Linked DNA regions of Homo sapiens: regions 1, 2, 3, 5, 6 and 7 are each linked to region 4. The links are contacts of gene promoters, found by promoter capture Hi-C in human tissues and cell types (Jung and others, 2019). All regions are on one chromosome and are shown on one strand. The core of a region is centred on a gene start or on the middle of the fragment in contact, and the rest is flanking DNA. Distances in the headings are between cores, read along the strand shown.

Region 1 (3,425 bases), core at 224-2,723, 230 kb before region 4:
GGGAGGCAGAGGCAGGAGACTCGCTTGAACCCAGGGGGTGGAGGCTGCAGTGAGCCGATATCGCACCACTGCACTCCAGCCTGGTGACAGAGCGAGACCCTGTCTCAAAAACAAACACAATAAACATTCGCCCTGAGTTATGCACTGAGGAATTATTTCAGGAAAAGTGGTTTGGGAACCTTCCTGGACAATGAGCTGTCTCCAGGAGGATGTGGATACTTCTGGCTCCTACCTCTTTGAACTCCAAACAGACTCAACAGCCCCACCTCAAGATGGCCTCTCAAGCTGAGTGTGGCCAGAGGCATCTTCTACTTCCCACCTCCTCCCACTCCAATACACCACACCCAGCCTTCCAACCTCACCAAGCAGCAACTCCGGGCCAGAAACCAGGAGACCAGCTTCATTTCCTCCTCTGCACGCTTCACACACTACCAGCAAATCCCATCAGTTCTATCCCAGAACTTTCCCCGACTCCTTGCACCCCTTACCTGGCTTAAACTGCCACCTCCTCCATCTGGATTTTCCCACCTAGCTCCCCAAGGTCCTGCTGCTTCTACTCCAGCCCAGCACGCTTGCCAAAGGGGAGCAGGCACCACCCCTCCTGCGTAAACAGGTGTCCAATGGCCCCATAGCACTCAGTAAGTAAACAGCAGTGCCCACACACAGCCTCCAACAGCTTGGATCCCTTACCTGACTGCCATGCACACACAGTCCTGCGCTGGGACGTGTTTTGTTTTGTTTTGTTGGACTGAATATGCTGTTTACTTTTTTTTTTTTTTTTTTTGGTTGAGATGGAGTCTCTGTTGCCCAGGCTAGAGTGCAGTGGCACGATCTCGGCTCACTGCAACCTCTGCCTCCCGGGCTCAAGTGATTCTCCCACCTCAGCCTCCGAGTAGCTAGGATTACAGGCTCATGCCAGCACGCCCAGCTAATTTCTGTATTTTTAGTAGAGACAAGGTTTCACCATGTTGGCCAGGCTGGTCTCGAACCCCTGACCTCAAGTGTTCTGCCCGCCTCAGCCTCCCAAACTGACAGGATTACAGGCGTGAGCCGCCAGGCCTGGCCTTACTATTTTCTTTTATAACGGCCTATTGGGCAGGCCCTGCCTATTCCAAGCAACAGTGGAATGGACCGAGCAGGGAATGCCCGAGGCCAATGCAGGCCATCCAGTGCCAGCCCTCAGGCTCACCTCCTGCTCAGACGCTCCTCCCGTTCCCTCTCCTCTCTCCTCCTCAAGCGATCCTGATTTCTCTTCTCCTGCTTTTCAGCGACAGTTTTCTAAATAAATGAAACAAAAAATGAGGAAGAGCAAGTTACACAAACCAGAGTGTGAATGCTACTTAACAAATCACCTTTATATGAGCTCAGTATTGGTAATTTAAAAATTGAAGGGACACTTTTAGGAAATGGGAATACTTTTTTTTTTCTCTTTGAAACGGTGTCTCACTGTCACCAGGCTGGAGTGCAGTGGCGTGATCTCGGCTCACTGCAACTTCCACCTCGAGTTCAACCTATTCTTCTGCCTCGGCCTCCCAAGTAGCTGGGATTACAGGCACATGCCACCACACCCAACTAATTTTTGTATTTTTAGTAGAGATGGGGTTTCACCATGTTGGCCAGGATGGTCTTGATCTCTTGACCTTGTGACCCGCCTGCCTCAGCCTCCCAAAGTGCTGGGATTACAGGCATGAGCCACCGCGCCCGGCCAACACATTCATTTTTAAAACTTCTTAATGAAGAAGATAACACATGAAAAAATGCTTTATCATTACATTTTTTTTTCCTGAGACAGAGTCCGCCCTGTTGCCCAGTGCAGTGGCGCGATCTTTGCTCACTGAAGCCTCTGCCTCCTGGGTTCAAGCGATTCTTCTGCCTCAGCCTCCTGAGTAGCTGGGATTACAAGCGTGCCAGCACGGCCGGCTAATTTTTGTATGTTTAGTAGAGACGGGGTTTCACCATGTTGGTCTGGCTTGTCGCAAACTCCTAACCTTGTGATATGCCTGCCTCGGCCTCCCAAAGTGCAGCAATTACAGGCGTGAGGCACTGCACCCGGCCTCGTTTACATTTACTTTTTTTTTTTTTTTGAGACGGAGTCTCGCTCTGTCACCCAGGCTGGAGTGCAGTGGCGCAATCTCGGCTCGCCGCAAGCTCCGCCTCCCGGGTTCACGCCATTCTCCTGTCCTGGCCTCCGGAGTAGCTGGGATTACAGGCGCCCGGCACTGCGCCCGGCTAATTTTTTGTATTTTTAGTAGAGACAGAGTTTCACCATGTTAGCCAGGATGGTCTCGATCTCCTGACCTCACGATCCGCCCGCCTCGGCCTCCCACAGTGCTGGGATTATAGGCATGAGCCACCGCGCTTGGCCACTTTTTTTTTTTTGAAACAGGGTCTTGCTCTGTCCACCCAGGCTGGATGGAGTGCAGTGGCGCAATCACAGCTCACCGGAGCCTTGACCTCCCAGGCTCAAGCAAGCCTCTTTAGCTCCGCCTCCTGAGTAGCTGGGACTATAGGCGTGTGCCACCATGGCAGACTAATCTTTAAACATTTTTTATGGAGATGGAATCTTGCTATGTTGCCCAGGCTGAGCTTGAACTCCTCAACTCAAGCAATCCTCCTGCCTTGGCCTCCCAAAGTGCTGGGGTTACAGGCCTGAACCACCCAGCCTATCATTAGATTTTAACAATGTGGTAACAAACTGTCTATTCTAAGTGGTGCTATACTTCTAACTCACAGGGAATTGATCACATTGTTTCAAACCAACCCAGATAGGTAGGAGACTGTACAAACTTTATGGTAAAAAAGGACGGATGTATCTCATCAAACACATCTTGCTACTGGGAGCAGAATCCCTACAGCCAAAAAGCAGCCCAACCTCAGGGTGCTGGGTGCTACGCTGGCTTTAGAACAAACTGAGTTGGAGGACAGCAGGCCAGGGGAGGTGGACCACAAATCCTCTGCAACTGGCTTTCAACACAGGATGATGTGAATCATCAGGCTTGATGAAGAAAGCAATATAAGGGGATGAGAAACCTCGCCAATGAAAATACCGTCAACACAAGCTGAGTGGAAAAGCACCGGGCACCGTTCTGTATACCCACTACTCCCAATATCAACTCTAAGACATTTAATGCCCCTCATCTGTGTCAAGTGAAGCCCTGAGTGGGAGCAAGTCAGAGCCAGTAAGACAAAGAATCACGAGTCTTCTCCATCCAGAGAGCCACGATGGCATAAGGATAATCTTCCATACCCAGTGTGGATGAGAGCACGCTCCCCACAAGGGCACGGAAAGTATGCAGAGCTGGGTGACTGGTATCTCCAGCTCTAAACTTTCACCCATGCTCATCCTGTGTCTGAAGCAGGGCACACATGGATGGACACCTTTAAGGTGATGTTTAAGGATGGCATTTAAGCCAGGTACGGTGGCT
Region 2 (3,510 bases), core at 558-3,057, 180 kb after region 4:
GTGTCCTGGAACAGTCTGTACTTCCAGCAGATGTGGGTCCTGCCTGCCCTGGAAACGGCCATCTCTCTGAAGAGCCTGTGTCCTCCTGGTGGGGAGGGATAGCTAGTATGTCAGCTTCTTAAATTACTTTATTAAAAATTGAGTATATGCAAAATAGTAGTCATAATAATAGTAATAGTAGCAAGTGCAAAGTGTAAGTAATAGAAATGGATGTCACCTAACCTGCCGAGTTTAAAACATTGTTGTTGGACTTTTTTAAAGAGCTTTGGTGCCGGATGGGCACGGTGGCTCACGCCTGTGATCCCAGCACTTTGGGAGGCCGAGGCGGGCGGATCACAAGGTCAAGAGATCAAGACCGTTCTGACCAACATGGTGAAACCCCGTCTCTACTAAAAATTCAAAAATTAGCTTGGCCTGGTGGCATGCACCTGTATTCCCAGCTACTCAGCAGGCTGAGGCAGGAGAATCGCTTGAACCTGGGGAGGCGGAGGTTGCAGTGAGCCGAGTTTGCACCACTACACTCCAGCCTGGGCGACAGAGTGAGACTCCATCTCAAAAAAATAAAAATAAGAGCTTTGGTGCCTACGTGCGTCACACAGACAGTTTAACACATAATTCATTATCAGCAAGCGGTGACTGCCCAGGTTTTGCCTGTGGGGAAACAGAAAGGTTTTGACTCCAGTCTCTGTCTTCTGAAGAGCTGGCAGTCACAACTGTGGCAGAGCCTGGTGTGTGGCAGCTGCGTGAGGCTCTCCTGGACTGCTGTGGAGGAAGGGGCCCTCTGGCACCCCAGGAGCAGCCTGCCCCTCTGTCTGCCTCTGCATTTAGACCCTTAGCCTCCTTGCAGAGCCACCTCCTGGTCATTAGCGTTAAAGCTCTTCTCTCCTGATGTAGTTTTCCTCACCGTTCAGTAAATGGGCCTGCTGCTTGTGTTTGGAACAGAGATAGAAGCTGTAGCTCCCACGTGTGTGTGGAGCTGGTTTGACTTTTAAAAAATTGTAGTACCAAAAACTATGATTTTTTGTGTGTTATCCACACCATCAAGGCTGTATCACCGAGTATCTGCTCATTCTGAAAGTGTGCATCCTTTCTGAATTGAAATGAAAGAGCAGGAGAAACCGTCTGTGTCCAGCCTGTTAGAGGTGTTACATTTGCCCTAGGTGGGCTGGGCAGAAGGCTGTTCTGCTCGGGAGCAACAGTGTCCACACGTCAGTTTCCAGAGCCCGGGTCGCCAGGATCCGGCTCAGAGTGTGAGTTTGCTCAGGTGTGTGCTGAGCACCCCTGGGTGCCAGACTCCGGGCAGGTCCCCGCCGCAGCCGCGTCAGCAGAGCAATGTGATCGTTGCTGGGACTGTTCCCCTAGTCTCAGTCAGTTCACTAGGGCCATGCATGCAGTGTTCAGACAGGAGATTCTCATGAAAAATAGAATTGTTATCCTAAAATTACATGAGAGGGAATGCTTATAAGTTTATCAAATAGTAAAACATCACAACACAGGACCGGGTGCGGTGGTGCACGCCTATAATCCCAGCTACTTGGGAAGTCAAGGCAGGCGATCCCCTGAGGCCGGGGGTTCAGACTAGGCAACGTAGCAAGGCCCTATCCCTGCAAAAAAAAGTAAAAAAAAAAAAAAAAAAAAAAAAAAAAAAGGCCGGATGCGGTGGCTCACGCCTGTAATCCCAGCACTTTGGGAGGCCGAGGTGGGTGGATCACGAGGTCAGGAGATTGGGACCATCCTGGCCAGCATGGTGAAACTCCGTCTCTACTGAAAATATAAAAGTTAGCGGGGTGTGGTGTCGGGCACCTGTAATCCCAGCTACTCAGGAGGCTGAGGCAAGAGAATCGCTTCAACCCAGGAGGCAGAGGTTGCAGTGAGCCGAGATTGCACCACTGCACTCCAGCCTGGGCAACAGCTCTCAAAACAAAACAAAAAACTACTGATTTGGAGGCACATTTAATGATTATTCAATGAAGTGTATATGCTTGATATCTTAAGTATGTAAAATAATTGTGGAATGAAATATATGACAACATTAGCAGTGGTCATCTCTGTTTTTTTTTTTTTGGTTTTGTTTTTTTTTATTAGAGAGACAGTTTCACTCTTCCAGGCTGGAGTGCAGTGATCATAGTTCACTGCAGCCTCAAATTCCAGGGTTCTAGTGATCCTCCCGCCTCAGCCTCTCAAGTAGCTAAGACCATAGGCATGCACCACAACACCTGGCTAATTTTTTAATAAATTATTTTTTTATTTTTGAGACAAAGTCTTGCTCTTGTCCACCAGGCTGGAGTGTGATGGCACGATCTTGGCTCACTGCAACGTCTGCCTCCTGGGTTCAAGCCTCTTGCCTCAGCCCCCCGAGTAGCTGGGATTACAGGCACCTGCCACCACGCCCGGCTAGTTTTTTGGTATTTTTTTAGTAGAGATGAGGTTTCACCATGTCGGCCAGGCTGGTCTCGAGTTCCTGACCTCAAGTGATCCACCCACCTCGGCCTCCCAAAGTGCTGGGATTACAGGCGTGAGCCACTGTGCCTGGCCAATAAATTATTTTTTGTAGAATTGAGGTCTTGCCATGTTGCCTAGGCTAGTGGTCTTGAACTCCTGGGCTCAAGTGATTCTCTCACCTTGGCCTCCCAAAGTGTCGAGATGACAGGTGTTAGCCACCAAGCACAGCCAGAAATGAGTCTTAAAGTGGACATGAGATTGGGGTTTAAGCCACACTAAGCTGGATTTGTAATCATTGAAAGTAATCTGAGAGCTATGGGATCTGCTCCTTAAAAGATGGGAGAGGAGAATTTTAAGAGATAGGGTCTCACTGTGTTGCCCAGGCTGGTCTTGAACCGTGGCGCTGAAGCAATCCTCCTGCCTCAGCCTCCTGAGTAGCTGGGGCCAGACCTGTGTTTTTTGTTTTCTTAATGTTCTGTGTTTAGCCAGGTGTTCTGTGCCAAGTGTGCCTGCTCTTTGTAGACACGAGAGCCCTTTTGGCTTGTTGTGGGTTTTAAGGCGTTAAGTAAAAGCTCTAGCTTCGCAGGAAACCAGTCCACAAACTGCCCTAGAATTTCTTCTGACATTTGGCATGCTGGTGTACACAGACACATTTGAAATTTGTTAGATAACTTTTCCTTCCTTTACTGTCCTCCATCAGGCAGGCGCCGGTTTGCCTGCAGTGGGGTTGGTGGACGTGGGCTGTCCTTGTCTCAGAAGACATCCGAGGGGAGTGGTATGCCGGAAGATTGAATGCGGAGCGCCGGCCCCGCACGTGAATGACTTAGAGCCCCAGGTCTTCAGGGACAGGCAGTGCCTTCACATCTGGCTCTGATATGTGTTCAGGCTGTCTTGTAGGGTAATCCGGTCCCCTAATCCTTAGACCTCCAAATTCAAAGCAGATCAATGCCCTGTGGGTTTAATTTTTTTAAATCAATTTTATTGAGAGATGATGTCTATTTAATAAATGTACCCTCTTTGCATGTACAGTTCTATGAGTTTTGGCACATATATGTACCTATGCAGCCA
Region 3 (3,374 bases), core at 603-3,102, 220 kb after region 4:
CCACGAGGAGAATGTCCGCTTTGTGTCCGAAGGTAGCGAGCGGGGCCAGAGGGTGCGGCATAGGCTGCTGGGTCGCAAAACCATGGACCCGGGATGGCCCCACTTCAAGCTGACCCACAGCCGCTGCATGGCTGTGCTTTTCCTTGGCACTCTGCCCTTGTGTCCTGTGACCAGCCCTGTGTGGGGCTGGAGTCCAGGGTGACCATCAGGCCCTGGGTGGGCGATGGGGTGCCTGGGACCTGGCTCAGCCCGACTGCCCTCCTCCCACAGCCTGGCAGCAGGTGCAACAGCAGCTGGATGGTGGCCCAGCCGGTGAGGGCGGGCCAAGGCCTGTGCAGTACGTGGAGAGGACCCCCAATCCCCGGCTGCAGAGTGAGCCCCCCAACCCTGTCCCCCCAGGAGAGACCCCCCAGCCCCTCTGATCCTGACCCAGGCCCTGCCAGGTTCCCACCCCAGGGGATGAGGGAGGGGACTCTTGTGCAGAAACCCCTTCTTCCCAGCGCCTGCCGCACTCGGAGTCCGGGTGAGCGGCTTGTGGTTAGCTCCAGGGGAGACTTGCCGGCTGGCCTGGGAGGCAGCATCACTGCCCAGCCTTCTCTGCCCACAGACTTTGTGCCCATTGACCTAGACGAGTGGTGGGCGCAGCAGTTCCTGGCGAGAATCACCAGCTGTTCCTAGTGGCTGCTGGGAGGGGGCGCTGCTACACGGCCGACCTGTCGCCAGGAGAGAAGCATGGCGCCCTGCCCACCCACTGCGCCTGGCTGGGTGCCGGCCACACCTGAAGTGCCAGCATTTGGACTTTTGCACCTTTTTTTCCCTTGGCCCGGCTGTCCCAACCAAGCTGCCATGGCCAAGGGCCGAACCCGTCTGACCTCAGCCCTGCTCACTGTGCCCAGGGACCAGCGACCAGCCCCTGGGGCTGGCAGGGAGGAGCTCCAGGCTAATAAAGTGGAGAAACTGTCTTTTTGGAGTGTCTTTGACTTGGGAGGGTGTAGGGGGGGTTCTCATGTCCAGTTCCAGTCCACAGCCTGGGACGCCAGGCCCAGCACAAACTCCCCTTGTAGCCCTGTTCCTTCAAGCCGTTAGCTTCTCACCCAGCTGCCCTGCGACAGGTAGGAGGGACGTTAGCCAGCCCACCTTGCTTGGAAGTCTGGGGACCCCACTTGGTTCCTCTTTCCTCTCCCGTTGGCGTTGACTGGGACCGAAGCCGAGACTCAAGGCCTAAAGACATTAAATGGCCCCGGAGTGCAGTCCACCACCCCCCACTACCGGCACTGGGGCTGTGTCTCAGAACGCCAGGTCCCATTCTGAATCCGCCGGGCCCGGCCGCAGGACACTGGGCGAAGGAGTACGTGGGGAACCTGATAGGACGAACGTGGGAACCAGCCCCTCCGCGGGCGCCCGCACTACCTTCCCTGATGGACGGGGATGACCCAGCCCACCTGAGTCAGGACCCAGGGTACCCAGGTGTGGAGCAGGGGCCTCTGGACGGCGAGAGAGCGGCAGGGTGAGGCCCGGCCGTCCGTGGCATGGCCAGGCCTCAGCGCGACCTCGCCTCGCTGCTTGCATGCGGCGGGAGCCCCGGCCGGCCGAGGCGCTGACAGGTGGGCGCGGCGGAGGATCCGCAACCGGCGCGGGCTTCGAAGCCGGTCGGGCTAACAGGGGGCTGCCTTGGGAGGCCCGCGGGGCAAAGGGCAGCGGGATTCGCGGCTGGAGCAACCCTGGAGGCCGCTGACGTGAGCGGGGTACTCCCACCGGGGAGGTCACGTGGCCAGGGCGCCGCCATGACGGCGGAAGTAATGGCGGAAGTGGCACCGTTGCCAGGCAGCCGTTGCCTGGCGTCGCGGGGCGTACTCTGCGCTGGGCGCGCGGAGGCCTAGGCGGGAAGCTCGAGCGGCGGCGCCATGGCCCGAGGTAGCGCGCGGCTGGCGGGGGTCCCGAGGATCCCGGGTTCCGGGGTTCCGGGGTCCAGGGTCGGCGGCCGGAGCGCTCAGGGCCCCCGCCTAGGCCCTGAGGCCAGAGTCCCCGCTCAGGCAGGGTCCCGTCTGCCGGGCGCCCACCCTCGGGCTCCCGGAGCTTGGCTTCCCTCGGGCGCCCGGCCTCGTCCCGCCAGCCTAGCTGGCGTTGGCGTCGCCGGGGAAGGCGCGGAGAGCCCCGGCTCCTGCCTGGTCCCCGAGGCCCGGCCCAGCCCCGCAGTGGCCCCGGCTCGCGTGGCCGAGTCCCCTGACGCCCGGCGCCCGCTCCCCGCAGCGTGGCAGCACCCGTTCCTCAACGTCTTCAGACACTTCCGGGTGGACGAGTGGAAGCGCTCCGCCAAGCAGGGGGACGTGGCCGTGGTCACGGTAGGCGGCCGGGGGCTCGCCCGGAGCCCACACCCCTGCCCTGCCCCCAGGAGAGCTGCCCCGCCCCCGAGGGCCCCCTCGCCCCCGCTGCACTTCTTCTGGGTGCTGTCGGTGATGCGGGCTCCCGCTTCTCCAGGACAAGACCCTGAAGGGCGCCGTGTATCGCATTCGGGGCTCAGTCTCTGCCGCCAACTACATCCAGCTCCCTAAGAGCAGCACCCAGTCTCTGGGGCTGACGGGACGATACCTGTATGTGCTCTTTCGGCCCCTGCCCAGCAAGCACTTCGTCATCCACCTCGATGTGTCCTCCAAGGTACGGAGCCCGCGGCTGGGGGCTGCGTGGGAGCCCCGGCACCCCTGCGGCCCCTGTCTCCTCACGGCCCTGCTCCGTCCCCACAGGACAACCAAGTCATCCGTGTGTCTTTCTCCAACCTCTTCAAGGAGTTTAAGTCTACGGCCACGTGGCTCCAGTTTCCCTTGGTCCTGGAGGCCAGGACACCTCAGAGAGGTGACACCAAGATGGGGTGTGGATGATCCAGGACAGGTGGCTGGAGGGAGTTGGTGCAGGCCCAGTGAGGCTCCTCTGCGGCCTGGAGGACAACCTGGCGGGGGCACAAGCTCACAGTTCTGGGAGTCGCGGGCTGTCAGGAGGGTGGGCGCTGACCCTGAGTGCCCATCCTGCAGATCTGGTGGGTTTGGCCCCCTCCGGAGCCCGCTGGACCTGCCTGCAGCTCGATCTGCAGGACGTTCTCCTGGTCTACCTGAACCGGTGCTACGGCCATCTCAAGAGCATCAGGCTGTGCGCCAGCCTGCTGGTCAGGAACCTGTACACCAGTGACCTGTGCTTTGAGCCTGGTGAGGGCCGCACCTGCACTCCCCACTCCATATCTCACCCATGCTCTCAGCCCTGGAGAGGCCCAAGTCCAGGGTGCTTGGGAAAATACAGTGCTCGAGCTGTGCTGTCTCTGAGCTCTGGCCAGAACCCATCCCAGAGGCAGCCCTGGGGTCAGAACCCATCCCAGAGGCAGCCCT
Region 4 (3,693 bases), core at 1,194-3,693:
TGAAACCCCGGTCTCTACTAAAAATACAAAAAATTAGCCGGCCTTGGTGGCATACGCCTGTAATCCCAGCTACTCAGGAGGCTGAGGTAGGGGAATCACTTGAACCCGGGAGGCGGAGGTTGCAGTGACCAGAGATCGCGCCATTGCACTCCAGCCTGGGCGACAGAGTGAGACTCCATATCAAAAAAAAAAAAAAGATAATAAGGTGCTGCAGATCTGTGGTCTCAGCTACTGGAGAGGCTGAGGTGGGAGGATCTCTCTTCTATTTTTATTTTTTATTTTGGAGACGGAGTCTTGCTCTATCATCCAGGCTGGAGTGCAATGGTGCAATCTTGGCTCGCTGCAAGCTCTGCCTCCCGGGTTCACGCCTTTCTCCTGCCTCAGCCTCCCAAATAGCTGGGACTACAGGTGCCTGCCACCACACCTGGCTAATTTTTGTTTTTTTGTATTTTTAGTAGAGACGGGGTTTCACCGTGTTAGCCAGGATGGTCTCCATTTTCTGACCTCGTGATCCGCCCGCCTCAGCCTCCCACAGTCCTGGGATTACAGGCATGAGCTACCACACCTGGCCTAAGGTGGGAGGATCTCTTGAGCCTAGGAGGTTGAGGCTGCCGTGAGCTATGGTCGCACCACTGCACTGCAGCCTGGGCAACAGAGCAAAACCCTGTCTCGGGGAAAAAAAAGAAAAGAAAAGAAAAGAAGGAACTGCTACAGCCCACAGCCTACAAAGGGGACACAGATAGTAGCTCTGAACAGCAGACGGATAGACGGGAACTTGTCCCTTTAGTCTTTCATGAACAGCCTCTAACTGGTCCAGGCAGGGAGGTGCAGGCTTCCAGGCTGTGGTTCCATGGAGGACACCAGCCGGGCACGCAATGGACGTTTTCCAGCCCTAGCACAGACAGAGCGTGCGGGCCCCTGCTCTCAGAAAGCCAGCCTTCTGCCTCTGGCAGCGCCGGCACATAAAAGCAGAGGGAGCCTGCTGTCTCTGCCTCGCCCACACTAACACCCCTATTTAGAAAGGTTGACACATCACTATCACTGCTTCTGAAAATTTTATCCGGCCGAAGGCATCAGCCCAAATTTGAATTCTTGCCAAAGCTGCTGGTGATTTCGTTCTTTGAATGCAGTATCTTCCTCATGAACACGTACAGCTCTTACAAGAAAATGAGAATACGGTTTGGGGAGGAGGATCCCTCACATTCCTTTTCCTAATGCCAGCCTCGCGAAGTCTGGTCCCATGTACCCTGGGATTCTGCCACGGAAGATGACTCACTTAATTAACACGCTGCTCCTGACCGTACACTTGGAAGCAGAGGTTCCGTTCCTTTGGTTCTTGCCAAAGCTGCTTACGAAACCATATCTTGTGTTGGTGCCCATGGTGTGTAAAAATACAAGTTCATCATTTCCCTGATACAAATTATGACAGGCTAAATTTAGTGCCTCACCTGTCCTAACTAGCTTTCCCACCATCATGCCTGCCGCCGGGCTGTGGTCCTTTCTGAGGTCCCGTGTCCCTCTGAGGACAGGGACACCCAGACACAGAGGTCAGTTGTCAGACGCGGCCACGGTGCTCGGGAGGCTGGCTGCAGACGGGCGATTCACCCTGGGTGTCTTCTTGAGTCTTATTTTTTGTAGAGACGAGGTCTCGCTTTGGTGCTCAGGCTGGTCTCAATCTCCTGGGCGCAAGCGATCCTCCCGCTTGGGCGTGGGCCAGCGCGCCCGTCCCAACGCTGGGAGTCCCGGAGATCTTGGTCACAGGCTTAAGGGAAAGGCCTAGCGCGTGGCCGCGCGTGCCTCTGGTTTCAAGGGACATGGACTGCGTGTCTGGGGCCCCTCCGCACTCCGTGTCAGACCCTGCGTCCCCCGGGTCCGCGCGGGACCCGGGCAGGGCGTCGCCCTCTGCGGCGTCTGCGCCCCGCGAACCCTGGGGCACCTGCAACCCCTGGGCCGCGGAGCCAGGCGTGCGCCGCCTCCTGGTCTCATCAACGTGAGAACGCTTTACCCCCGAAGAGCTCAGCTCCTAGGGGGCTATGTCCCTTTGCGTCTCTCGCTCGCCAGGCGGTGCCGTTTACTCGACCGCACCATGCGTGGGTAGCGGTCGCGCCCGCTGGTAGCTGTGCGGCGGGAACACGTTCTAAGTAAGGCCTGACTCCGCGCGCCTCTTGCCAGGGACGTCACGTCACGCCTCCACTCGCAGCCTCGGAGCACCCCCGCGTCCCGCGCCCGAAGCTCGGGACCCCCGCTCTGGCGAAACGAGGAATATGACATACAGCAAAACACCCCTTCGCGGCCGCTGCACTGCCGCGACACACCCGGCGCCTGCCTCTACAGCAAGCCGGCGAGGGGCTGGGACCCCGCCGGGACGTGCTGACGTCAGGCCCGACGGGGGGCGGGGCCTGGGCGGCGGCGGCGTTAGTTCTCCGGGTACCTCAGGCGCCTCAGCCTCCTTAGTCTCCTCATCCTGCTTCACAGGCTCCGCGGCCTCCGGCCTCCTCGGCCCCCGTCCCCCGGCCTCCTCGGCCCCCGTCCCCCGCCATCCGCCGCCCGGATCCTCGCCGCCCTCCCTAGGCCGCCCCGCCGCCATGGGCCTGCGCCCGCCGCGCCGCCGGGCCGAGGGCAGCTGAGGCGCGGTGCGAAGATGGGCGAGGACAGAGCAGGGCCCGAGCGCCAGCCCCAGCAGCCCGGGCGCCCCGCGCGCGCCCGCCCGCGCCGCCGAGGGGATGCCCGCGCCCGCCGCCGCGCCCTGAGCGCCTTTGTCTGCCGCCCGCGCCCTTCCGCACCACTAGCCTCTCGGGAGCATGGCGTCGGCCCCGCCGGCCTCGCCCCCGGGCTCGGAGCCGCCGGGGCCCGACCCGGAGCCGGGCGGGCCGGACGGGCCGGGGGCGGCACAACTGGCTCCGGGCCCTGCGGAGCTACGCCTCGGAGCGCCCGTCGGCGGCCCCGACCCGCAGTCCCCGGGCCTGGATGAGCCTGCGCCCGGGGCCGCTGCAGATGGCGGGGCGCGTTGGAGCGCCGGGCCGGCCCCGGGGCTGGAGGGAGGCCCGCGAGACCCCGGGCCGTCCGCCCCGCCGCCGCGCTCCGGCCCGCGGGGGCAGCTTGCGAGCCCCGACGCCCCGGGCCCAGGGCCGCGCTCCGAAGCGCCGCTTCCAGAACTCGACCCGTTGTTCTCCTGGACTGAGGAGCCCGAGGAGTGTGGCCCCGCGAGCTGCCCGGAGAGCGCGCCTTTCCGCTTGCAGGGGTCCAGCAGCAGCCACCGAGCGCGGGGCGAGGTCGACGTCTTCTCTCCCTTCCCCGCGCCCACGGCGGGCGAGCTGGCGCTGGAGCAAGGTCCCGGGTCCCCGCCGCAGCCCTCGGACCTCAGCCAGACCCACCCCCTTCCGAGCGAGCCCGTGGGGAGTCAGGAGGACGGCCCCCGCCTCCGAGCCGTGTTCGATGCCCTGGACGGGGATGGGGACGGTTTCGTCCGCATCGAGGACTTCATCCAGTTTGCTACGGTCTACGGGGCAGAGCAGGTACGGAGCGGCCCGGGCCGGGGCGTGGGAACTGGGCAGGTGCGCGCTGGCCGGCGGGGTTGATGTGGGACCGGTCGACGCTGCCCCTGGAGTCGGGAAAGGCACTGTCAAGACCTGACGGTCCTGCTTTTTCTGCTTATTCACCACTTCGGCCCTGGATTTCTGGTTGAATTGCGCT
Region 5 (3,373 bases), core at 775-3,274, 210 kb after region 4:
TTCCTGGGAGATGAGGGCCGTGGCCTGCATGAACTACCAGATGAGTAAGGGAACCCCAGGCAGGCGGCCCTGCCACAGCCCCCAAAGACACTGGCCTCCTGCTCCAGCTTCCCTGTCCTGGCCCCACCTGTCCTGTTGCTGCCAGCAGGGCCCTTGTTTGGGATTATGAACAAACCTCACAGACTTTGAGGACCTGGATGGTCCTGCATTCACGGCATCAACACTACCCGCGCTGCTGTTAGACACTCCGCCATTCCTGGTTCTCTCCGAACCGTTCTTTGTACAGTAAATGTAATTCAGCTGTGGTCCCCACGTTTTGCTGTGTCTGGTGGGGTGGGTCTGGCAGTGGCGGTGCCCCGTGCCAGGGGCCAGTGCTGCTTCATACCCGGCAAACTGACCTCTGGCCTTTGTTTTGCCTGCTGTTCCCTGCGCTGACCGGGCTGACCTGCCGCGGTTGGCTGGGTTCGCCTCAAAGTGAGGGCTGGAGCTGGGCTGGAGCAGCTGGGCCTGGTCACGGCCATTCTCCTCTTCCCGGTGGATGGAATCCCAGCTGGGCTGTGCTGAGCCCTCGCTCACAGTCCCCGGCAGCAGATGGCCTGGGGCGGACTGTCCCCAACAGCAGCAGGACTCCAGAGGGCCAGGTCCTCCAGTCAGTCGGCCCGCTCAGCAGAGCCGCCTGCACGCTGGCCAATCTGGTGTCTGCTATGCCCGGCCCAGGGGGGTGTGGACGCCCCGGAGGTCACAGCTGAGCTGGAACGGGGCACTCCAGTTGGTACAGGGACCAGACCACAGCCTCTGGCTCAGGTGCCTCCCTGTGCTGTTTCGTGGGCATGTCCGGGCCTTAAGCCCCTCCCTGGCAGCTCCAGCCCAGCCGCCTGCTGCTGGGTCTGGCCTAGCTACCCCCACCCCCACGCTATCAGGGCCCACCCCCAGTCTCCTTGTAGAGCAGGGACTGGCGCCTGGAGCCGTCTCCGGGTCTCATTCTGACCAGACCAGGCTCCTGTTACCCTGCCTCCTGGGTCAGAGGTCAGACACAGGGTCAGGGGGACACTCCCATCCGGTCTCAAGAGAACCACTCCCTGAGGCCCCAGACATCTGGAGCCACAGAGGGTTTGGAAGGGTAGATTCCAGGCAGCCTTTTGTCCTGCTGCACCAGGCAGGCCAGCCCCCTGCCCTCCCCAACGAAGAGGAGCCAGCCTGGGGATGTGTGCCCCGCCGACGGGGGGCTGGGGCAGGGCAAGGCTCTGGTGCCCTGGGACACTTGCTCTTTTCAGCTGCAGACGCCCTTGCACTTGGCCTTCCCTCGGGCGGTGCCATCCCACGCGGAGCCACGTCCAGGGCTACACGGTGCGTGGGCCGAGGCTCCGGCATCAGCGTTTCGGGCTGTTCTTATGCTTGTGGTGGCCACAGGCCTCTTCCTGCTGCACCTGCCCCGCCTTGGGGACAGGCCTGAGCCCCAAGCCCGCTGCCTGGTTTCAGGGATGGGGTCTCTGGGAATGCAGTCCTGCCGGGTTGGGCCCCACTCCAACAGGGGCAGCAGAGCAGAGGAGGCCGGGCTGTGCTGGGCGTCCTGCAGACCCCTGTGCCCCTGAAACAGCCATGGAGGGGGGAAGGAACCTCGGAGCGGAGTGAAGCCCTCGGCCGCACGTGACCGTTGCCAGCCTGGACCTGGCCCGGGGGACCCAGGCTGTGGTCAGCCACGCTCTGCGGGGAGGGCCCGTGCCTGCCACCCCCATGGCATAGGAGCCTGGGGTCCAGAGGGCGCCAGGGACAAAAGCTGGGATCTGCTGGCCCTGCCCCCACCCTACTGAGGGTCGTCAAGGAGATTGATCTCAGCCCAGGGGTGGACGAAGGGGTTCAGGTTACAGGGTCCCCTCCCCTCCCCCTCTCCAGCCAGAGCCAGCCCTTCCCCGCCCCGGTGACCCTCATGGCCAGTGGCTCTGTGCTCATGGGCCTCTGGCCCCTCCCCAACCTCCTCCCCTCTGCCCTGTGCTGACCAGGGCCTGGGAGCCCCCGCACGGTTCAGACAGAGGGGCCAGGCTGAAGCTGGAGAGGAACCAGCGTCACACAGACGGCCTCTGAGAACTTGGAGACCCCGTTACCCACCCAGCAGGGGTGTCAGGACAAGCATCTGCTGCAGGCTTCAGCCTCAGGGGCAAAAGGGAGCCCCGGGGTCCTGGTGGGGGCACCGACCACAGGCCCGGAGGGTGGATGCCTGCAGGAAGCTGGGCTCTGTGGAGCCCGAGGAGGGGCTGGTGGCCACACCCCCCGGCCCCCTGGCTCGGCGGCCCTCATGCCCGCCCTACGTCCACTCCTGCCGCTCCTGCTCCTCCTCCGGCTGACCTCGGGGGCTGGCTTGCTGCCAGGGCTGGGGAGCCACCCGGGCGTGTGCCCCAACCAGCTCAGCCCCAACCTGTGGGTGGACGCCCAGAGCACCTGTGAGCGCGAGTGTAGCAGGGACCAGGTGAGTGTGGTCGGGCCGGGGTCCTGGGGCTCAGAGCAGCCAGCCTGGGCAAGACCCTGCTGGAGGTGCCACCTTCTGCCTGGGCTCCCCAGACTTCTGGGGGGTCTGGGTCTGGGCCCCTTAAGGGGCCCAGAGACACCCCCATCGTTGCCCTCATTTGTCTTAAGAATAAGAGCCCTCCCCACTCCAGCTTTCATGCTCCCCATGTGCCTCCACCCTGGGGCACCATCATCCTCGGCGACCACCCCCACCCCGTCACTGCCTCTCCTCCCACCCTCTCCTCCCACCCTCTCCTCCCATCCACTTCTCCCACCCCTTCACTGCCTCTCCTTCCATCCTCTCCTCCCACCCTCTCCTCCCATCCACTCCTCCCATCCACTTCTTCCATCCTCTTCTCCCACCCCGTCACTGCCTCTCCTTCCATCCTCTCCTATCCACTCCTCCCATCCACTTCTTCCATCCTCTTCTCCCACCCCATCACTGCCTCTCCTTCCATCCTCTCCTATCCACTCCTCCCATCCACTTTTTCCATCCTCTTCTCTCACCCCGTCATTGCCTCTCCTTCCATCCTCTCCTCCCATCCACTTCTCCCACCCCTTCACTGCCTCTCCTCCCACCCTCTCCTCCCATCCACTCCTCCCATCCACTCCTCCCATCCACTTCTTCCATCCTCTTCTCCCACCCCGTCACTGCCTCTCCTTCCATCCTCTCCTCCCACCCTCTCCTTCCATCCTCTCCTCCCACCCTCTCCTTCCATCCACTGTCCTCCCTGTCCTCCCACCCTCCTTCCATCCGGGACCAGTGCAGATGGTGGTGGGGGTGCTGCAGCCGATGTCCAGCCTTTGTCCTGGCCCGCACCACCTGCTGGGTGGTCCTGAGCACTGTACGCCCTCCTTGGGCCTCAGTTTC
Region 6 (2,528 bases), core at 1-2,500, 240 kb after region 4:
AGCCTCACGCTGGCTGCTCACAGGTGGTGGAGAAGATACCACTGCCCTTTTTTGCCATGTCCCTGAGCCTGTCCCCCGGGACCCACCTCCTGGCTGTTGGCTTTGCTGGTGAGTGCTGGTGGATGCAGTTTGGGCCTGTCTTAGGTGGGGGCCAAGTGGGCTGACTGGTGCCCTGTTCCAAGACAGGTGCCTCACCTGTGCCCCGGGCTCCTCGTCTCTGGGGTGGGGTGAGGACATCTGCCCTAGAGAGGGTCCTGGAGTCAGGAGATGATGAGGCAGGTGAGGAACCAGGCACAGCGCCCAGCACAGGGCCTGAATGCACGGGTGGCAGCGACTTTTAAGGAGGGAACTGGCCCAGCTGCAGGCCGACAGCCTGGCAGTGATGGACCCCCTAGTCCCAGTGGCACGTGGAGGGCACAGCCAGGAGCCCTTTTAGCACCAGCTCCCCCGACCAGCATCATGCCCAGTGGGGACAGTCTGGGTGGGTTGGGGGAGCCCTCTGAGTGCTGCCTGGTCCTGGCCCTGGCCCACCTGCACCGTCTACCCACAGAGTGCATGCTGAGGCTGGTAGACTGTGCCATGGGGACTGCCCAAGACTTTGCCGGCCACGACAACGCAGTGCACCTGTGCAGGTTTACACCGTCCGCCAGGCTGCTCTTCACGGCCGCCCGCAACGAGATCCTTGTGTGGGAGGTCCCCGGCCTCTGAGATGCAGCAGGGACTGTGGTGGTGGGCATCACGCCTGGTCATGCCAGGCACCTGGACACAGGCTTGGCAGAGGCGCCAGGTTGTCAATGGCCTCATGCTGGGACAGGCCAGGATTCACGTAAATCGCCTGGAGCAAGCTGTTGTAAATTTGGCGCCCTGTGAATACTTTCATACCTGTTGCCCTTTTGCCTAAGAAATCTTTAATGTTTCTATCTTGTAATAAACATGGGCATTTATTGCATTATTGCTGCATTGTTGCACTGGCTGTCTCTGGTCACTCCTGGCCTGAGCTCAGCCTCTGCCCGTCCCTTAATCGGCTGTTTGTCAAGGCCCCTGTGGTGCCGTGAAGCAATGGCCGCTCGGCCTGCCAGGGCGCCAGGACCCTGCGCTGTCCGCCGTGGCCGGCGCGTCCACACGGTGGCGCGCCGCACAGCCTGTCCGCTCTGGCCCGCCCGGCTCGCTGGTGCGGCTGTGCGGGCGGGGCCGGAAGTGTGGGGACAGCGCGGGGCCGAGAACCGGAAGTGCGGGGCGGGCGCGGGGGCAGAGCGAAAGGCTTGAGGACCAGGTCGGGGCCGGGTTCCGGGTCGGGGAGCGGCTCCGGGCGGCAGCTATGAGGCGGGACGTGCGCATCCTGTTACTGGGCGAGGGTAGGCGCCGGCCCGGGGGTCTCGGAGCTGCGGCGGCCGTGAGGCGGGGTGAGGGTCTCGGGGGTCGGGGGGCGCCGTGACCTTGGCCCTCGCGCTGACCGCCTCGCCCCGCGCAGCCCAGGTGGGGAAGACGTCGCTGATCCTGTCCCTGGTGGGCGAGGAGTTCCCCGAGGAGGTAAGGGGCACGCCCGCCGCGGGGGTGGGAGCGGGCCCAGCCGGGGGTCCCTGGTGAGCGCGCGGGTCCCTTGCAGGTCCCTCCCCGCGCGGAGGAGATCACCATCCCCGCGGACGTCACCCCGGAGAAGGTGCCCACCCACATCGTGGACTACTCAGGTAGCGGCCGTAGCCTCCCGGGGGCCCGGCCCGCAGCGGTCCGGCGGGCCTGCTGGGTCCGCAGTGGAGTCTCTTTGTCCCCCTAGAAGCCGAGCAGACGGACGAGGAGCTGCGGGAGGAGATCCACAAGGTACCCGTGGTGCGCGGGACGAGGGAGGGGCTGGGCGCGGGCTCGGCCTAATCCGCTTCGCAGCCTGGGGGATTGGACCGAGGTGCTCCGGGTGTCCTTGGCCCTGATAATTCTGTGACCTCCGCACTGAGGGTTGTCGGGGCCCCTACAGCGCACCCCGCTGGGAGCCGGCACCGCTCAGTCCAGTGGTGCTCCAGGGATAACAGGACCCTTCCCCGCGGGCTCTCCCTCCCTCCTGCCGGGGTGGCAGCAGCGTTTGCTCTTCCTGTGGGCTCTGTGTGCGCCACGTCCCCGTGCTGTGTGCTCCAGCCCACCGTCCCGGCCTCCGGGCACCCGGAGCTCCCAGTACCAGAGCACGTGTGCCGGGGACATCTCCAGGCAAGGGCACAGGCCACAGCCACCCAGGGCAGCCCCTGCTGTTGGCACCCCTCACTGCGGTCCTGTCACTCTGTCTGTAGCGAGGGGGGAGGCAGGGGCCAAGGCGGCGGCTGTCTTGCAGGGTGTTGGGTTGCAGGTGTGGCCGTGTCTGTCCTGAGCCCTCTGCTCCAAGGGTCTTGCTGACCACAGTTATGCTTCTGGGGCCTGGTGTCCCTGCACTGGCAGTGGGCGGGGAAGAGGCTTCTCTGAGGGTTCAGCAGCAGCTCCCAGTGTGACACTGGGGAGTGCCTGCTCTGCCAACACCAGGCTGGAGGCAGGTTTTAGGGAAGGCT
Region 7 (3,307 bases), core at 378-2,877, 180 kb before region 4:
CCACGCCTGGTTAATTTTTTGTATTTTTAGTAGAGATGGAGTTTCACCATGTTGGCCAAATTGGTCTCGAACTCCTGACCTTGCGATCCACCCACCTCAGCCTCCCAAAGTGCTGGGATTACAGGCGTGAGCTACCACGCCCATCCCGTGTCAGGTCTTTTACCTTAATTAATACGTATTGTATTGACAAATTTTCTTTTCTTTCTGAGCCCTCACTTTTTTTTTTTTTTTTGAAACAAGGTCTCACTCTGTTGCCCAAACTGGAATGTAGTGATAATGATCACAGCTCACTGCAGCCTCAACCTCTTGGGCTCAAGCTAACCTCCCACCTCAGCCTCCCAGGTAGCTGGGACTACAAGCACATGCCACTACACCTAATTTTATTTTACTTTTTGTAGAGATGGGGTCTCCCCATGTTGCCCAGACTGGTCTCGAACACCTGGCCTCAAGTCATCCTCCTGCCTCAGCCTCCCAAAGCACTAGGATTATAGGCGTGAACCACCCTGCCCGGCCATGAAGTTAAATTTTTGGTTATTAGCTTGTTGAGTTCTGTTTTCTGTTTTTTTAAATAGCCACATGGCCTGACTCTCTGTGGTCAATGGTATGGATGCTAAAGTAGAGCAAGGACAGTGCCCTGCTCAAGTCTCTCTGACCTGGGTCCATGGGGATTTTCTCTGCCAGTCAGGTTCCTGAAGCTCTGGCTACGGCTCCTGGTATTTTTAATGACCGCAGTAGAGAAAAACATTGGTATCTTCTTGCTGTTGATGAGCAAATCTTTGGACCTGTCTCATGGTGTCTTTATTTGCAAACTGGTTGAATCATGAACTGCCTGGCTTTGGCTGCCTTGCCGTTGTGGCTTTTAATAACTACCCCTATTTCTGGTGGCTCAGTCAAGTTTCCAAAAAGGAAGTCTTACCTGGAGATCCTGTGAAGGAATTCCTGACCAGCTTTTTAATTTTCCAAAGACAGGCCTTATTCGTGTTAAACACACACCCCTTTTCTGTGGCCAGGCCGGTGTGAAAGCATGTGCAGAGGCTGTATAGCAGTAAGAGTTCCCACCCCTTGGGGCATTTTCATTGTCACCACATTGTCTGACTTTGGAGACGACCCCTTTTAAACTCTGGCATTTGCTCAGGTAAGTATTTGGGGAGTATTGTTATAAATGCTGTGCATATCCGTTTTTTCCCCACAGTGGAAAGGAAAATGATTTTTTTTTTTTTTGAGTCGGAGTCTTGCTCTGTCACCCAGGCTGGAGTGCAGTGGTGCCATCTCGGCTCACTGCAACCTCCGCCTCCCAGGTTCACACCATTCTCCTGCCTCAGCCTCCTGAGTAGCTGGGACTACAGGCACCCGCCACCACGCCCGGCTAATTTTTTCTATCTTTAGTAGAGATGGGGTTTCACCGTGTTAGCTAGGATGGTCTCGATCTCCTGACCTTGTGATCCACCCGCCTTGGCCTCCCAAAGTGCTGGGATTACAGGCGTGAGCCACCGCGCCCGGTCGGAAAATGATTTTAATGGATGGTTTTGAGGAAGCTGGTGATTATTTTGTAATGGAGAATTGTAACATGCCAGGGGTTTGGCTCTTCTTTCAGTATTTCTTCAGGCTACCACAAAACTCCACTATTGATATTCTTCCAAAAATAAACAAAACACTAAAAGGACTCCTGCCTTTGGAACAAAATAGCTTCATATTAAGGTAGCTTTGAGGCACAAACCAAGCTGCCTGTGGAGAAGCTGGTTCTTCCTCTAAAACTTACATGAACCTCTGACCCCACTCCCCCTTACTAACGGTTTTCTTTTCTCTTTTGATTTTCTATTTTATACTTTTTATTTTGGACTACTTATAGATTCACAAAATGTTGTAAAAATAGCACAGGGCTGGACCCTGAAGTCTGCTTCCCTGAATGGTAACCTCTTTTTTTTTTTTTTTTTTTTTTTGAGACGGAATTTTGCTTTTGTTGCCCAGGCTGGAGTGGAATGGCACGATCTTGGCCACTGCACCCTCTGCCTCCCAGGTTCAAGTGATTCTCCTGCCTCAGCCTCCCGAGTAGCTGGGATTACAGGCATGCACCACCACGCCCGGCTAATTTTTTTTTGTATTTTTAGTAGAGATGGGGTTTCTCCATGTTGGTCAGGCTGGTCTCAAACTCCCGACCTCAGGTGATCTGCCCGCCTCAGCCTCCCAACGTGCTGGGATTACAGGCATGAGCCATCGCGCTCGACCAATAACTACCATTTCAAATTCCCACGACTATTGTACTGCAGACCTGTTATCGTATATTCTCACCAACACATTTTAAAATGCTTAACTTTTAGGCTGGGCGTGGCCCACACTTTGGGAGGCTGAGGCAGGCAGATCACTTGGGCCCTGGAGTTTGAGACCAGCCTGGGCAACGTGGCGAAACTCTGTCTCTACAAAAAATACAAAAATTTGCCCGGCGCGGTGATGCACACCTGTGGTCCCAGCTACTTTATAGGCTGAGGTGGGAGAATCTCTCGAACCCAGCAGGAGGAGGTTGCAGTGAGCCTAGATCACCACTGCCCTCCAGCCTGGGCCACAGAGTGAGACCCTGTCTCAAGATCAGATAAAATGAAATGCTTAACTTTTGTTAATGTCATTGGTCCTGCTGTGTCTATGAGTGAGACTGAGTGTGTTTCCCCTGGGCACCGGCCACTGGCGTGTGCTCTTCAGTGAACTGCCCAGTTATGAATTCGTTTCCTGTTTCCCCACTGGGGTCCTTGCCTTTCTTTTGTGGGTTTGTGAAAACCCTAAGAATATTTATCCTGGTTTGTTTTGTGGAGCTAACAACAATCTTTTGGCTTCCCTGGGCCACGTTGGAAGAATTGTCTTGGGCCACACATAAAGTACACTAACACTAATGATAGCTGATGAGCTGAAAAAAAAAAATTGCAAAAAAATCTGTGAATGTTTTAAGAAAGTTTCTGAATTTATGTTAGGCCACACTTCAAGCCATCCTGGGCCGAGGGTTGGACAAGCTTGGGTTAGACATTTCATAATATATTTAGTTCATCAGTGTTTTTCTTAATGATTTCCACCTTTGGGGTCATGCGTTCAAGACTTTCCCTAACAATACATAAACATTCTCTTCTATTTTCTTTTAGTTTAATGTTTGTTAAAAATAATGTTTACATTTTTGGCCAGGCGCAGTGGCTCACGCCTGTAATCCCAGCACTTTGAGAGGCTTAGGTGGGCAGATCACGAGGTCAGCAGTTCTAGACCAGCCTGATCATCATGGTGAAACCGTCTCTACTAAAAATACAAAAATTAGCTGGGTGCGGTGGTG

The links. The method cuts DNA at HindIII sites, captures the fragments that hold promoters and counts their contacts. A contact is called where the count stands out against the background at its distance.
Region 1: a contact is called between a fragment that was not itself captured here and the fragment with the promoter of RAB11FIP3 in region 4, in 2 of the 25 tissues and cell types used here (lymphoblastoid cells and spleen).
Region 2: a contact is called between a fragment that was not itself captured here and the fragment with the promoter of RAB11FIP3 in region 4, in 2 of the 25 tissues and cell types used here (dorsolateral prefrontal cortex and lymphoblastoid cells).
Region 3: a contact is called between the fragment with the promoter of WDR90 here and the fragment with the promoter of RAB11FIP3 in region 4, in 5 of the 25 tissues and cell types used here (IMR-90 fibroblasts, dorsolateral prefrontal cortex, lymphoblastoid cells and 2 more).
Region 5: the fragment with the promoter of WFIKKN1 here is called in contact with the fragment with the promoter of RAB11FIP3 in region 4 in 3 of the 25 tissues and cell types used here (dorsolateral prefrontal cortex, mesendoderm cells and small bowel).
Region 6: a contact is called between the fragment with the promoter of RHOT2 here and the fragment with the promoter of RAB11FIP3 in region 4, in 2 of the 25 tissues and cell types used here (IMR-90 fibroblasts and thymus).
Region 7: a contact is called between a fragment that was not itself captured here and the fragment with the promoter of RAB11FIP3 in region 4, in 7 of the 25 tissues and cell types used here (dorsolateral prefrontal cortex, hippocampus, liver and 4 more).

What each region holds. Positions count from the first base shown.
Region 1 is chr16:191,738-195,162 of GRCh38, forward strand. It overlaps LUC7L (LUC7 like), which reads right to left. Exons shown (of 10, transcript NM_201412.3): 7 at 1,190-1,278. Among named protein-coding and RNA genes, the nearest start is that of HBQ1, 13 kb to the left of the region's middle. The HindIII fragment of the contact is 8,652 bases long and covers 1-3,425 here.
Region 2 is chr16:600,198-603,707 of GRCh38, forward strand. All of the region lies in intron 1 of RAB40C (RAB40C, member RAS oncogene family), which reads left to right. Among named protein-coding and RNA genes, the nearest start is that of RAB40C, 12 kb to the left of the region's middle. The HindIII fragment of the contact is 6,657 bases long and covers 1-3,510 here.
Region 3 is chr16:647,513-650,886 of GRCh38, forward strand. WDR90 (WD repeat domain 90) reads left to right here and starts at 1,853. Exons shown (of 41, transcript NM_145294.5): 1 at 1,853-1,914; 2 at 2,251-2,342; 3 at 2,479-2,655; 4 at 2,742-2,850; 5 at 3,027-3,197. The coding sequence starts at 1,905. It overlaps MCRIP2 (MAPK regulated corepressor interacting protein 2), which reads left to right. Exons shown (of 5, transcript NM_138418.4): 3 at 1-32; 4 at 271-372; 5 at 608-962. The coding sequence ends at 678. LOC105371038 (a long non-coding RNA gene) reads right to left here and starts at 1,801. Exons shown (of 2, transcript NR_135177.1): 1 at 1,443-1,801; 2 at 946-1,103. RefSeq lists enhancers at 418-467, 1,890-2,712 and silencers at 1,888-1,987, 2,098-2,227. The HindIII fragment of the contact is 7,525 bases long and covers 1-3,374 here.
Region 4 is chr16:423,206-426,898 of GRCh38, forward strand. RAB11FIP3 (RAB11 family interacting protein 3) reads left to right here and starts at 2,444. Exons shown (of 14, transcript NM_014700.4): 1 at 2,444-3,515. The coding sequence starts at 2,802. The HindIII fragment of the contact is 17,968 bases long and covers 1-3,693 here.
Region 5 is chr16:628,961-632,333 of GRCh38, forward strand. WFIKKN1 (WAP, follistatin/kazal, immunoglobulin, kunitz and netrin domain containing 1) reads left to right here and starts at 2,025. Exons shown (of 2, transcript NM_053284.3): 1 at 2,025-2,464. The coding sequence starts at 2,294. RAB40C (RAB40C, member RAS oncogene family) reads left to right here. Exons shown (of 6, transcript NM_021168.5): 6 at 1-308. RefSeq lists enhancers at 650-1,383, 909-1,203, 1,384-2,118. The HindIII fragment of the contact is 11,828 bases long and covers 1-3,373 here.
Region 6 is chr16:666,882-669,409 of GRCh38, forward strand. It overlaps RHOT2 (ras homolog family member T2), which reads left to right and starts at 1,251. Exons shown (of 19, transcript NM_138769.3): 1 at 1,251-1,355; 2 at 1,472-1,530; 3 at 1,607-1,688; 4 at 1,775-1,818. The coding sequence starts at 1,319. WDR90 (WD repeat domain 90) reads left to right here. Exons shown (of 41, transcript NM_145294.5): 40 at 24-108; 41 at 551-949. The coding sequence ends at 708. RefSeq lists an enhancer at 962-1,643 and silencers at 1,029-1,368, 1,429-1,528, 1,629-1,718. The HindIII fragment of the contact is 52,780 bases long and covers 1-2,528 here.
Region 7 is chr16:242,766-246,072 of GRCh38, forward strand. The region is part of intron 1 of FAM234A (family with sequence similarity 234 member A); the gene reads left to right. Among named protein-coding and RNA genes, the nearest start is that of FAM234A, 9.6 kb to the left of the region's middle. The HindIII fragment of the contact is 7,678 bases long and covers 1-3,307 here.